Linked DNA regions of Homo sapiens: region 2 is linked to region 1. Evidence: promoter capture Hi-C in 16 types of primary human blood cells and fetal thymus (Javierre and others, 2016). All regions are on one chromosome and are shown on one strand. The core of a region is centred on a gene start or on the middle of the fragment in contact, and the rest is flanking DNA. Distances in the headings are between cores, read along the strand shown. Region 1 holds the start of NUDT9 (nudix hydrolase 9). Region 2 overlaps PPM1K (protein phosphatase, Mg2+/Mn2+ dependent 1K).

Region 1 (7,815 bases), core at 3,973-6,472:
GTTCACTGGAATAAAGTCTCTTTCCTCCAAATTCCTTTTCAGAGAATGTTTGTTTACAATGACTAAATAAATGCAGAAAAAAAAAAGAGAATGTGTTAGGCCATTCTTGCATTGCTATAAAGAACTACTTGAGGCCGGGCACGGTAGCTCAAACATGTAATCCCAGCACTTTGGGAGGACAAGGAGGGCAGATCACGAGGTCAAGAGATCAAGATCATCCTGGCCAACATGGTGAAACTCCATCTCTACTAAAAATACAAAAAATTAGCTGGGCATGGTGGCATGGGCCAAGTAGTCCCACCTACTCGGGAGGCTGAGGCAGGAGATTCGCTTGAACCCAGGAAGCAGAAGTTACAGTGAGCTGAGATCGCGCCACTGCACTCCAGCCTGGTGACAGAGTGAGACTCCATCTCAAAAAAAAAAAAAAAAAAAAAAAAAAAAGAATAAAAGAAAGAAATACTTGAGACTGGGTAATTTATAAAAAAAAGTGTTGTGGGAAGTCAGGGACCCTGAACGGAGGGACCGGCTGGAGCTGTGGCAGAGGAATAAATTGTGAGGATTTCATGGATATTTATCAGTTCCCAAATAATACTTTTATAATTTCTTATGCCTGTCTTACTTTAATCTCCTAATCCTGTTATCTTCGTAAGCTGAGGATGTATGTCAACTCAGGACAACTGTGATAATTGTGTTAACTGTACAAATTGATTGTAAAACGTGTGTTTGAACAATATGAAATCAGTGCACCTTGAAAAAGAACAGAATAACAGCGATTTTTTAGGGAACAAGGGAAGACAACCATAAGGTCTGACTGCCTGCGTGGTTGGGCAAAAAGAGCCATATTTTTCTTCTTGCAGACAGCCTATATACAGACGTGCAAGTAGGAGAGATATCACTAAATTCTTTATCACTAATATTCCTAGCAAGGAATATTAATATTAAGACCCTGGGAAAGGAATGCATTCCTGGCGGGAGGTCTATAAATGGCCGTTCTGGGAATGTCTGTCCTATGCGGTTGAGATAAGGACTGAGATACGCCTTGGTCTCTGGCAGTATCCTCAGGCTTACTAGGATTGGGAAACTCCTTCCTGGTGAATTTTTGGTCAGACTGGTTCTCTGCTCTCGAACCCTGTTTTCTGTTAAGATATTTATCAAGGCAATATGTGCACTGCTGAACATAGACCATTAACAGGAGTTCTGATTTTGCCCTTGTCCTGTTTCCTCAGAAGCATGTGATCTTTGTTCTGCCTTTTGCCCTTTGAAGCATGTGATCTTTGTGACATACTCCCTGTTCATACACCCCCTCCCTTTTTGAAATCCTTAATAAAAACTTGCTGGTTTTGCGGCTCAGGTGGGCATCATGGTCCTACCGACATGTGATGTCACCCCCGGCAGCCCAGCTGTAAAATTCCTCTCTTTGTACTCTTTCTCTTTATTTCTCAGCTGTCTGACACTTATGGAAAATAGAAACAATCTACGTTGAAATATTGGGGGTGAGTTCCCCCAATAGAAAAGAGGTTTAATTGGCTCACGGTTCTGCAGGCTGTACAGGAAGCATGGTGCTGGGCATCTGCTTGGCTCCTGGTGAGGCCTGAGAAAGCCTACAATCATGGTGGAAGGCAAAGGGGAGCTGACATTTTGGCGAGAGTGGGAGCAAGAAAGAGGTGGACAAGGTGTCATACATCTTTAAACAACCAGATCTTGCATGAACTCACTATCACAAGGATAGCACTATCACAAGGGATCCACCCTCATGACCCAAACACCTCCCACCAGACCTCACCTCCAACACTGGGGAATACATTTCAACATGAGATTGGAGGGGAGAAATATCCAAACTATATCAGGGAAATAGTTGGGATTCTGAATTACTCTTACTTTTAACATACTCATCAATTCTAATAATCACATATGTCACTTTCCTATTTAAAAATTCTCATTTCTCAGTGTTCTTGGTCTGTCTCACCAACTATTGCAAGATGCCCTTGAAGTTGGTATATGCTTCATAAATTTTTAAAAAGTCCTTACTTCTCCTTAAATTCTGATGACATCTGTTTAACTAATTTAGGATGTGGGTAATTTGATGAGGAGATGTTTTGTTTCTACCCAAGAGCAGGTTGCAGAACATGCACTCACTACACCTGAGCAGATGTGCAGTATGCATCCCTGAAGGGAGGAACCCAGGAGATCTGGCTGTCCCAGCTAATTGCAGTTTTGTTTCAGTGCCATGGAATTGGTTTTGTTTGTACAGTTGTTTGCACAGGTTCATCAAACTAAGTTCACGCTAGCCTCCCCTTAGGGAATATGGAGTTATAAGACTAGGGTCTGAGGAGCTTCCTGTGAGAACTACTTTCTGTTGCTCCCTTTCTTTGATTGTTGACTTTGTAACTCACTGCTTTTCTCCTGTCTTCTCTAGTGACTAATTTGTCAACAGACTTTGGACACGCTGAACTTGATGAACAGAGCCGGTCTAATACATTTCCAGTTTAAGCAGTGATTAACAACACTGAGAGCAAAGTTTATCTGACCAGAGGAAGCCGAGTACTGATATTTATCTTTAAAATGCACATTTCAATAATAGTACTTCTCAACCTGAGAAAGCAGTCAAAATAAACAAAGCTGGACACTAGTTAAAGCAGTAAGGACAGACTTTATTCAGTGATGCTAGTCCAATAGGGAAAAGAGTGTAATACAAACTAATCCCACACTTCCCTGAAACAAAAGGCTGTGGTATGCAAAAAGGAAAGGCACAAAAGGATCTTAAGTTTTGGGGGGTGGCAGGGGGGCACGGTGGTTTGTTGATTGATGTGATTAGGCCATTTGGGTTTGTTAACTGGCTCTTATCCAGAGGAGAAACAAACTTCTATCTTTATGATAGGAGGCAGTGGTGCTAGCTAAAGCAAGGTACCGGTCTTGTACAGGGACTAGGAGCTAGGGTGAGTTATCTTTCTGAATATTTGCATTTCAAAGAGATGGCTCCCAAGTCTTTGAGGAAACTGTGTTGGGTGGTAGACTTACATCACCAAGGGTAGAGAAACAAGCTTTCTAAAGTGACTGCTCTAAGAAGGGGTTCAGGGACCTATCTGCCTATCATCAAGTTTTGGCTGGAACAAACAGTAAATTCTCCAGGCATTGAGTTTTGATTTCAGGGAAGCATTTTAACGGGATCTGGGGTCAGCCTAGGGACAAGGCCTTAAGCTACTGGAAGCTATGCTAGAGTATAATCAAATCTCTCAGTGCCGAGAAAAGAACTTTTATATGAGGAAGGTAAATCCTTTTAAATTACCAGGCCCAGAGAGACATTAAAATGAGACAGCAATTACATCCTACTCCCCACTTTGTTATGCATTCATCTCTTTAAACTGCTTACTATAGCCACAAGTAGCTAAAAATTAACCTAATAATGGTACACTGGACACTGTAACTCGCACCCTATAGCTTAACGTATAGCCAACCACTAACCAATACTATTTCTACAAACCAGTAATTCTTTACAACTTTGTATCAGTCAACTCCCTGTCCCCTTTTTGCCTTTAAAAACCTGATTGTAACAAAGGTGGACAGGAGTTCACATTTAAGGTTACTTGGGTCTGGGTCTTCTGGGCAGCTGTCCTCACTTTGGCTAAAGTAAATGCTTTAAGTTCTATCTCGTGCCTCAGCGTCTAGGTTGACAGTGTAGTTTGAACAGTCAATACCTGTCGAGAGTTCTGCAGTTTTCAGAACAATGGTTGTTAAAATTCGATTAATCTGGCTTTTAAGATGGTCAAAGTTTTGTAACGTCGGTGTATTGGAACCACACCACAGAAACAGCGGATCATGTAAGTAAAAGTCAAATAGTTGCCACATCAATAAGCTAATATAAATGAAGTAAGCCTGATTACAAGCTGCTTTGGACAGTCTGGGTTTCCAACTTTGTTTGTCGGTTTGTTTAATTTTTGCCTCTCAAGTTTATTATCCAGTATTATGTGTGTTGCCCTCTGTTCCTCCTCCAGCATGTGTGCCTATTTTCACAGCTTTTCTCCTCCACGAGTTTCCAAGGGCCACAACTGGTCCTAGCAAAGCCTTGTGAATGAAATCCAGCAATTGGAGCAGACAACTTGGTTAAGAAAACAAAAACAAAAAACCAAGAAACCCTTCAAGATACGAGGGCTGAGTCTCTGGACTATCTCCTCTTGCTGTAACCGCCCAAGGGGTTCACCTTTCCCGCTTCCTAGACAGAGCTGATTCATCAAGACAGGGGAATTGCAATAGAGAAAGAGTAATTCATGCAGAGCCAGCTGTGTGAGACCGGAGTTCTATTATTACTCAAATCAGTCTCCCTGAGCATTCAGGGAGCAGAGGTTTTTTCTTTTTTTTTTTGATACGTAGTTTCACTCTTGTCGCCCAGGGTGGAGTGCAGTGGTGCGACGTTGGCTCACTGCAACCTCCACCTCCCGGGTTCAAGCGATTCTCCTGCTTCATCCTCCTGAGCAGCTGGGACTACAGGCGCGTTTACCACCATGCCCAGCTAATTTTTGTATTTTTAGTAGAGACGAGGTTTCACCACGTTGGCCAGGCTGGTCTTGAACTCCTGACTGCAAGTGATCCCGCCTCGGCCTCCCAAATCAGTCATAATTTTGCAAAGGCGGTTTCATTCCCATAACGAAGTATTATTCAAAAATATGGCTAAGACCTGCGTCCTTCCGCAACAACTTACTCCCTAAAAAAACCAGAGCAGGGCCAGGCGCGTTGGCTGAGGCCTGTAACCTCAGCACTGTGGGAGGCCCAAACAGTTGGATTATTTGAGCTTGAGAGTTGGAGACCAGCCTGGGCAACATGGCAAAAATCTGTCGCTACAAAACATACAAAAATTAGCCAGGTATGGCGGTGTGTGCCTGTAGTCCCAGCTACGTCGGGGGCTGAGACAAGAGACTCGCTTAAGCCCAGGAGGTTGAGGCGGCAATGAGCTGAAATCGCGCCCCTGCACTGCAGCCTGGGCGACAGAGCCAGACTCTTGTCTCAAAAAACAAAAACCAAAAACCCAGGGCAGCAAGTCTCTCTCAAACCCCTTGGCTTCTTTCCCACTTATTCCCGTTCCAGTTCCTCGTCTGTTTCACCTTTCCTTTCCTCTGACACTTTCTTGGTAGTTCCCTGCGTCCCCAAGTAAGCCTGCGCAGACTGGGAAGTCTGGGAAGTCGGAGAAGGAAGGCGCTACCAAGCCGGCAACGCACGACCTTTGCTTTGCGGCGCGGCCGTAAAGCGCCATTACGCAGAGAGAAAGTTACGAGGTTCGTGGCCGCGGTTTCCCCAGGCAGCTGGCGCTGGAGGCTTCGGCGTCACGTGCTGGTCTGGATTTTTCTCGATGCACTGGGGAAAGCGGTGGACTCTTATCGTGGGAGGGCTCTTGATCTGTGATTTATAGATAGGCACAGCTACTCCCGTTCGGGAACCCAACGGCAGACAGGTCCTAGTGCCCATCAGATACCCGCGGCCGGGACTCGGAGCTGTGGGGTGTGGGGAGGCGGAGGCACCAACTAAGAGCGACCTAGCATCGCAAAGCCGCCCTCGGGGCGCTCATGGCGGGACGCCTCCTGGGAAAGGCTTTAGCCGCGGTGTCTCTCTCTCTGGCCTTGGCCTCTGTGACTATCAGGTCCTCGCGCTGCCGCGGCATCCAGGCGTTCAGGTATTCCACCCTCCTACTACCGGCTCCTTTGCCCTAGACCTTGAGTTGGGGGTGGGAAGCAGCTTTTTTTTCTGGCGTATTCTGTAGGCTTTGCTTTGCCTCTCGGGTTTTTATAGTCATATACAAGTTTTCAAAAAGGCTCTAAAATATTTTATCTGCCTTTTGAGGAAAACGAGTGGCAGGGACCCTTCTTGACTTCTGATTTTGAAATTTGCCATTCTCTGTAAATCATTGTTAGTATCACGAGAGAGTTTAAATAGCAATTGTTTGGGGTGGTGGTGTCCCGTGCCATTTTTTTATGGTTAATACTTAAAACATTATTATTAGTATTAATACATGTACATAGTTAAAACAACTTGAAAATGTAAAATGAAAAGTAAAATCACTATTCCCCCTGTCCCCTTTCCAGGGTGGACAATATATTATATTTACTATCTACCTCCTTTTTTTTAATAATTTGTCTATTGTGGTTAAATTTAGGGATTTATGGTGTCTTACACTGCCTCCTTCTGTTCTTCCCTTCTCCAGTTTTTATTCTTTGAGTTAGTAAACACAGGGTCCTAGGTGCAGCAGCCTTTTCTTATTTTATAGATATTAAAAGTCTTGAATCTACAAAGATGATAATTAGAAAAATCTATTTCCTAAATAATTTACTTACTGTTGGTCAATTGTTCTGTGTCTTTTTGGTCCTGTTTCCTTCTGTTGCTTTTTCTCGAACATGTGATGGGCACTGGTTATCTGTCTATATTTTGATTAATATGAGTAATAGGTCTTGTTTTCAGTACATGGGTCGCTAATTGACTTTTGGCTCTGTACCAGGTTGCCTAGATAGGAAGGTTTCAGTTGAGGGCATGTGAGCAGGTACCAGATGGGTAGACTGGGAACCTGCCTTTTGCTTCAGGCTTTGCAGTAGTGGTGGAGCAACTTCTCTGCTGAGTATAGCTGTTTATTTCCTCCGTGTGAACTGTAAAATTATTAAGCCTAAGTTTCTGCTGTGTACTCTTAACACCAGTATTCACAGTAGGGGTCCTACCCCTTCATTTCTAAAAAACTTTTGATTTTATCTTGGAGACAAACATAACTATTTTGGACTTTTTGCTTGGAGATTGGGGAGGGAGGAGGACTGAGTGATTTCCATGGTTATTGTCGCGCTGCCAGTTTATGATCCTTGGGCCCACTGACTTCAAGCTTGAAACCTCTAGCTCGGCTCAGCTTGTAGGAATAGCATTTCTCCCTAATGCGTTTTTTTTTTTTTTTTTTTTTTTGAGAAGGAGTTTCGCTCTGTCGCCCAGGCTGGAGCGCAGTGGCGCGATCTCGGCTCACTGCAACTTCCGCCTCCTGGGTTCAAGCGATTCTTCTGCCTCAGCCTCTTGAGTAGCTGAGATTACTGGCGCGCGCACGCCCGGCTAATTTTTTTTGTATTTTTAGTAGAGACAGGGTTTCACCATCTTGGTTAGGCTGATCTGGTCTTGAACTCTTGACCTCGTGATCCGCCCGTCTCGGCCTCCCAAAGTGCTGGGATTACAGGCGTGAGCCACCGCGCCCGGCCTTGGTGCATATTCTTATTTTACTTTGTCCTACTCTGGTTTGTAGGTCAATATTCCAACAACTTTTCATTTTCCTGAAGTTGGTTACCATCTGTCATTCACTGGTGGCATTTATTCCTTCTCCTGGTACGGATTTTATTTCCCTTTATCTATCTTTATCTTCTTTTAGTGGGATTTGAGGAAGGAAGGAATACACGTGTGTGCTCTCTGGAAATCTCTAATGCTCTTTTTGTTAGATGCCAGCAGAACAGTGTAAAGTTGCTTGACAGTTATTCTTCGTTTTTGTAACTCTGGGAACCCTACATGAGGCAGGTATATCCAGAACCAGAGACTGTACTGACTTGAAAGAAAAAGCCAACAGTTAACAAATGTGCCAAGTACCTGGTAACTAATGTGGCAGAATAGCTTGAACCGGGGAGGTGGAGGTTGCAGTGAGCTGAGATCATGCCACTGCATTCCATTCTGGGTGACAGAGTGATACAATGTCTCAAGAAAAACAAAAAAAGAATTTTATGGCCAGGCACAGTGGCTAACACCTGTAATCCCAGTGCTTTGGAAGGCTGAGGCAGGAGGATCGTGTGAGGCCAGGAGTTTGAGACCAGTCTA
Region 2 (6,880 bases), core at 1-2,500, 860 kb after region 1:
GGAATGTGATAGTTTTACATACCATCAGCAGACAGGCGGGCATGACTCGAAAAGGCTTTATCTATTTCTAGAAAAGCCAAGGTCAACAGAGTTTCCAAGTTCTTCTCCTTAGGAAGCAAATCCCTTTGTGGGGAGGAAAAAAAGAGCCTTAAACAATCATTTTACAATAGGTTTTTCTCCTCACTGTTACTCTAGCTAGCAGTCATTCCACACAACGGGCCTCAGGATTTTCCTGTCAAATGCTGAAGACCTACTGGCTAAGGAATACCTATTGAGAATCCACAAAGTATCAGGCACTGTGATAAGCTTTTAAGGGCACAACAATGAAAGTCCAAGTCCTTGTCCTTGAAGAATTGATCCTCACTACCACAACCCTGAGAGGTCGAGAGTTCCTTCCCATTGTGAGTTCTTTCGTGGAATGCGGTATACACAGGAAGTCAAGAAATGGTCACTGGGAAGTCAAAAATAGTCACATGGTCGTAACTCCATCACATGTTCTCCCTCTTTCAATTTTAGCAGTAATGTGATCCTCAAAAATGCATTAATACTAGTTGAAGTAAATAAACGGAAGAGCTCCAAAATGCCTGCATTAAATGCATTTTTCCACACTAATGCCAATCATCCAAAGCTATTTTCAACAAGTCAGGTATTCAAAGCTATTCACACCACTTGAAAGAGTAATTACCATTTACTGAAGCACTTATCTGTCCTACACTGATGGGAGTAAATGCTTCTCATAGGTTATCTCATGTACATTATGCCACTTCACTTAAAATGATCACAAATTAAGTGCTATAGATTTTGGTTAATGCTTTCCCCAGGGGAGTTGTTAAAACATGCATTTCTGAAATTGTGATAACCATAAGTAATAAATGGCACACTTAAACTACTGCTCATTCGTGAAGCAGCAGCATGCAACCACTCAAGTAACTATGTTTACGCTGGAAGCCTCAGCCAAAGGGTGAAAGTTTAAGTAGGAAGTATAGGAACTGCAAAGTCAGGAGTGAAAGTCATTGTACATACATAATACATTTCTCCATGTGGGTATGACAGAAATCAGCTGCTGCAGGTCCACCGTGTCCATCATACACTGCAAAGTACAGGACCTCATCTGTCAGCTGAGCGAAGTCAAACCGATCTTCATTCTCTTTCCGTTTGCCAATCTGTGAGGCGCACCCCACATTTTCCAAGCTGATTTTGGGAATTGGCTTGCCATACTTAATGCTGGGTGGCAGCAGAATTGGCTCATCAATGCGGTTATCCCAGATCCCAAAATTGTCCCAGGTAGCTGGACTCCCACTACCATCTGGGTCAAACCGAGAACACCTAGGCTCTGAAGTGGAGCTGTGGCACGTGGGTGTCACCCGCCTGTCGTCCTGCAGCAGGCGGGAGCTTAGCAGCACTCTCCTTCTCACCTGGTTCCCACCACTTCTGACCAAAGTAATTAAGGCAGCTGTTGACATAACTCAGCTCCAAAGGACTCAGTGATGAGGGAAAGGTCAATGGAACAATAATGGAATGTCTTCAAGAAAAATGATGCAAGTCACAGGGGACAGAGGGAGAGAGGGGCAGAGGAGGAGAGGGAGAGAGACAGAGAGAGAGAGACCATCAGAAATTTTGAATATAACTGATATGTCATCAAATATTACCAAAAATGAAGCTCATAAAGGATTTGACAGAAAATACATATATTTATGTTATATATTGGGTAGGCATCCAGTAGCCTGCTTCTAAGAACAGTGGATCAAAAATGAATCGATTTTCCTACCGCATTCACAGCATTTAAATTCTATAAAAATTTAACAGTGTGCACATACACAGAACATGTATCTCTTAAACTTGAACCTGCAATCACTTGTTAAAATGCATGTTCTGACCCAGTGGCTATGGGGTGGAGTCACTCTGCATTTCTAACCAACACCCTGGTGATACAGAAGCTGCTGGTCCCCAAGTTACACTTCTAGTAGCAAGAACACAGAATACAGGTATAAATAAATATACTTCCCTTCATTAACTCTATTGCTTTAAAGAAAAGGTAGGGATAAATATTAACAATAGCAACAAAGTCTCTTCAGGAAAAAATAACAGGCTAATAGAATACTTAAAATAGTTCTGTTTCCAAAGAATGGCCAAGTTTTAACAAAAACATAATCTAGGATAAATCTAAGTTTTATTTTAACATTTCTTAACCTACTAAGCTTTACATACTATATTACTATGGTAAATATAAATTGGTGTGCAAACACCCCAGAGGCACAAAGATAAGCCAGTTTTGATGCTCCCCATCCTAGCAGACTCTCTCACTAGGAGGGTATGTGGGTATGATCTCAGGAACCTGGCAGCACTGCATTTGTGACAAGCAGCCCTGATTTCTGAACGAGTGATCTATATATTTACATTCACAGCTGCAGCTCTCCTTTCCCCAACCCTAACAACCCAACGACACTTGAGACTACACTTCTTTGAAACGATTACTTTACACCCCCATTTCTGGACTCCACCCTGAAACTCAATCCTAAAACCTCTCTTGGCATTACAGGGTGTTACCCAGGGGAACTCCTACCCCACTGCAGGTAGAGCTGTTTCTGGGAATTTTCCACACAAATAAAAAATTTGTCTCCATAGGATTTTGTTCTATTACTTTATTCTTTTAAAATCAACTTGAAAAGATGGCAGAATACTAAGGTTTGATGATGTTGGTGGATGGTCTACAGATAGTATATTATTCTCAATCTTATGTTTAAATTATTTCACAATAAAAAATGAACTTGAAAAAATGTATCTTTCCAAAAGGTATAAACATACACAAATGAAACCCAGCTTGAGTGCAGTTATGAGAAAATGCACTACAGATTTCAAACAATTACTTTCCAATGAATTTTTGGAAATCAGTCTAGCTATGTATAGGGAAGGCCATTACTTCTTTCGGTGGGTAAAACAGTCAAAAGAAAGAATGAGGTTCCAAAGAACATCCTTAGGTGTTTATTTGTTTTAATTTCTTGTAGATATGGGTTCTCACTTTGTTGCCCAGTCTGCTCTTGAACTCCTGGCTTCAAGTGATCCTCCCACCTCAGCCTCCCAAAGTATTGGAATTACAGGCATGCGCCACAGAGACTGGCCTCAATCTTTAGATATTTAAGCAATTAAAAAAAATATGAGCTCTGCTGTCACAGAATTTAGAATAAAGATGGCCACCAAAACAAGTAATGTATCATCAAAGACTTAGGAAGTCATCCCTTCTTGGCCTTTTGGCCAAGATCCTGCATAGAAGGCTGAAATTCATTTCTTCGTAAGACAACATTGTTGGGGGGTTGGAGAGTGGCAGAGACACAGCATCTCTGGTTATCAAAGAGAATTAACATGGCCGGACCCGGTGGCTCACACTTGTAATCCCAGCACTTTGAGAGGCCGAGGTAGGCAAATCACTTGAGGCCAAGAGTTGGAGACCAGTGGGCAACTTTGCAAAACCCTGTCTCCACTAAAAATACAAAAATTAGTCAGGCGTGGTTCCGCATGCCTGTAGTTCCAGCTACTAAGGGGGCTGAGGTGGGAGGACTGCTTGAGCCCAGGAGTTTGAGACTACCCTGGGCAACATGGTGAAACCCTGTCTCTACAAAAAGTACAAAAATGAGGTGGACAGATTGCTTGAGCCTGGGAGGCAGAGGCTGCAGTGAGCTAAGATCACACCACTGCACTCCAGCCTGAGCAATGGAGCAAGACATTGTCTATTTAAAAAAAGAGAGAGAGAGCGAGAGAGAGAAATAACACATTCCATTGCAAGAGATGTTTGTTCTTTTGCTTCTAATTGAGAGTTAGATTTTATTCAGCAACAATTATGGATTCAAGCCAGCAATGGTGTGTTAAAAAAAATTTAAAAACCCAATTATGTTAATTATAGGTGATGAATTGAGACTTCAAACTACAATACAATCTACCAGGTAATGGAAGTACTAATTATTTGGAGATAATTCCCAAAGCAGCTTTATATCATATAGAAAAAAAAAAGAACTTTAAAGAAATACAATTATTAGAAAATATTTGTATTTGAAGAGTTAACTTGAGATTAGCAAAATACTATTCTTTTGGCTTCGGTCTGAAAGTATATATGCCATATTCAGCCTTGAGCTACTTTGCAGTCATGCACCTACTTTAAATCAGAGTTCTGGAATTACAAATAAATAAATATTGAAGTTTTTCTGCAACTGTTCTAGTATATTCTTGCCGTTTTATCTCCTCTTTATCCTCCCCCCAATTTTTTTTTAAATAATAAAATAGAACTGCATTCTCACAGAGAACAAATATCCACTGGAAACATTTTTAAGAAATGAGATAAAATGCAAATTGAGCAGTTTCTGTAAGGCTAAAAACCTGCGTATTTTAAAATCAATCATCAACCTGGCATCCTTCCTCGTGTATTGTTTCTATAATCATCTCAGAAAGCAGGCAGTCATAGGAAACCACCTACTTTAAGGCATATTATTGGCAGAGATGAAATGTGACCCAGATATATAGCTAGTTTATAAAAAACAAACAAACAGGTCGGCATCGCTTAGGTAAACGAGATGTTACGAACTGGCTCCATGTCCTTTTCCATCTGCAATGTAACTAAATCATATCAATCCCCTCCATATTCCCTAAGAAACAATTCAAAGGCAGCTGGAGTTCCCAAAGTAAATAACAACTTTGAATTAAACCTGCACATTAAGAAAAGTTTCCTCCTCCAGAACTCCACAATTGGGATCTGCCATCATAGACCCCACAGCTCTGCCGATGCCCATGGGAATGACTATGCTTTGACCAGCAAGGCAAGGGGAGTAGAACTTGTGATGTGAAAAACAAAAACCTTAAGGAAAAAAAAAAAGCAATCAGTGTTCTCTAAACAAAAAGAGTGGAGAACAAACTAGCAAACACCTAAGGATTGTCTTTTGTCAGTTCAGCAATTAAAAATTGGGATGAGTTCATTATTCCACAAACTAAGAGAGAGAAGGAATCTTTTTAAGTAAGCAGGGGAGATTTAGGTCAATTTTTTGATCGGAAAACATGGCTAGTTTATTTTTATAAACCATTTTAACATTATATTCAATCTTTGGAAGTCAAGTCATCCAAAAGGAAAGCACTTTCTCTGGCAGGAAGGTGCACTGGATTTGAGTTAAACTGTTCTTGTATGTTAAAAGCAGGTCAAAAGGGCAGTTTAAGCACATGCCAAAATTATTCAGGAGTTCTAAAGTTCTGAAACCTGCTTAGATTTTATCCCTCTAGAAAAAATATTTTAAGAAAGCATTCCTATCTGCCCATTATGAAGTGGCATTTAGGTATCTACAACTTCCACAATGAGAACACAGCCCTTTTAAATATTCTTAAACCAAATATTTACCTATCGACCTTTTTAGAAAATCAATTAAGGCATCCCAGTAAATTCAAATAGTATGGAAATTTCCAGAATGTATTTCAGCTAATTGGGACCCCAATACCTTCTTTCTCAATACCCTGCTAGGAGGAAGGGAAAGAAAATTTACTGCTTTACCTGAGGGGAAAAAAGAAAACAACAATAAAAACTCCAAAGGACTCCCCTTAGGTTTAATGTGAATATGTCTATGTTCAGATGTGTGACTGGAGAAAAGTGTGAAATGTGAGCAGTGAAAAGTACTCAGTATTCTATTCCCATAGATATCTTTTAAGACACGTTAGTAAATATGCATACAAGCCACAGACTATATCCCAAACCTGTAACTTTATAATGCCTTTAAGAACTTTCCTTCACAGTCTATTATGTCACCAGCCACTCTCCTCTCTTCTTTCCTCGTCTCTAAGGATTGCAGTCAAGGAATTTGCCTGGGTGATCAGTAGTAATGACTAAGGTTGCAAGAAAAAATTATTAGCGAGAACTCACTACTCAAATATTGTAACTAAGGTATTTTATCAGACACACACACACGCACGTGCTGCTCTTCTTCCTGCCACAGCTGCCTAACCAGAACACCACAAACCATGGCTGTTTTTCTTTTTCTTTCTGAGACAGGGTCTTGCTCTGTCGCCCAGGCTGGAGTGCAGTGGTGCGATCTCGGCTCACTGCAGCCTCGACCACTCAGGATCAAGAGATCCTCCCACCTCAGCCTCCGGGGCTGGGACCACAGGCACATGCCACCACGCCCGGGTAATTTTTGTATGTTTTGTAGAGCCGAGGTTTCGATGTGTTGCCCAGGCTGGTCTCGAACTCCTGGGCTCAAGCCCGCTTTGGCCTTCCAAAGTGCTGTGATCACAGGCGTGAGCCATTGCTACCGGTCTCATTGCTCTTTTTCATCGTCATTGTAATCTGTCACTTTAGTCGCTCATTCTGAAACCGAAGGACAGCCTCATTCCTCCGCCCTGACGGAAAGAACCGATGAGGCCTTGCTGCACGTTAGCAGTGGGAGGCTCAGAAAAGCCCGTGGAGCTTTTGAGACTGCAAATTCCCTGGCTATTTCCACCTGGAGCCTCTTTGTCACATCCGGTGAATTCCCTCATCTACAGAAAGCGGCTGCTGAAAAAGACATCACCAGCTACAACGCCTTGAGTACTACAGCGCTCCCTGCGCAAAGTAAAACCCAAGTCTTCGGATCAAAACCAGCCGGGGCTGTGCATCCTTCACGATGCCGGACCTCCTGAAAAGCTCACCTGGGTACAGCTCAGGATCCTGGCCTCGGCTCGCTGGCCCTGACAGGCGGGTGGTCAGGGTGACACACGGTGGGAAGAACACACGCCCGCCTGCCTGCGAAGCCTCGCAAATAGCTGGGCTCCCTCGGCACCTTCTGCCGCCAGGTCTCCGCCTCCCAACCTCCCTCTGGGCGTACCGAGCCCGTTGTCGCCACGTTTCCCTCGCCCGGGAGGCAACGCGGCACCC

Evidence for each region. The method cuts DNA at HindIII sites, captures the fragments that hold promoters and counts their contacts. A CHiCAGO score of 5 or more calls a contact.
Region 2: a contact is called between a fragment that was not itself captured here and the fragment with the promoter of NUDT9 in region 1, in 1 of 17 cell types (fetal thymus). The highest score is 5.3, in fetal thymus.

The regions. Positions count from the first base shown.
Region 1 is chr4:87,417,351-87,425,165 of GRCh38, forward strand. It overlaps NUDT9 (nudix hydrolase 9), which reads left to right and starts at 5,223. Exons shown (of 8, transcript NM_024047.5): 1 at 5,223-5,662. The coding sequence starts at 5,556. RefSeq lists enhancers at 4,992-5,041, 5,111-6,045, 6,589-7,092, 7,093-7,594. The HindIII fragment of the contact is 3,809 bases long and covers 3,040-6,848 here.
Region 2 is chr4:88,277,121-88,284,000 of GRCh38, forward strand. It overlaps PPM1K (protein phosphatase, Mg2+/Mn2+ dependent 1K), which reads right to left. Exons shown (of 7, transcript NM_152542.5): 2 at 1,024-1,522; 3 at 23-123. The coding sequence starts at 1,463. Among named protein-coding and RNA genes, the nearest start is that of PPM1K, 4.0 kb to the right of the region's middle. The HindIII fragment of the contact is 1,892 bases long and covers 305-2,196 here.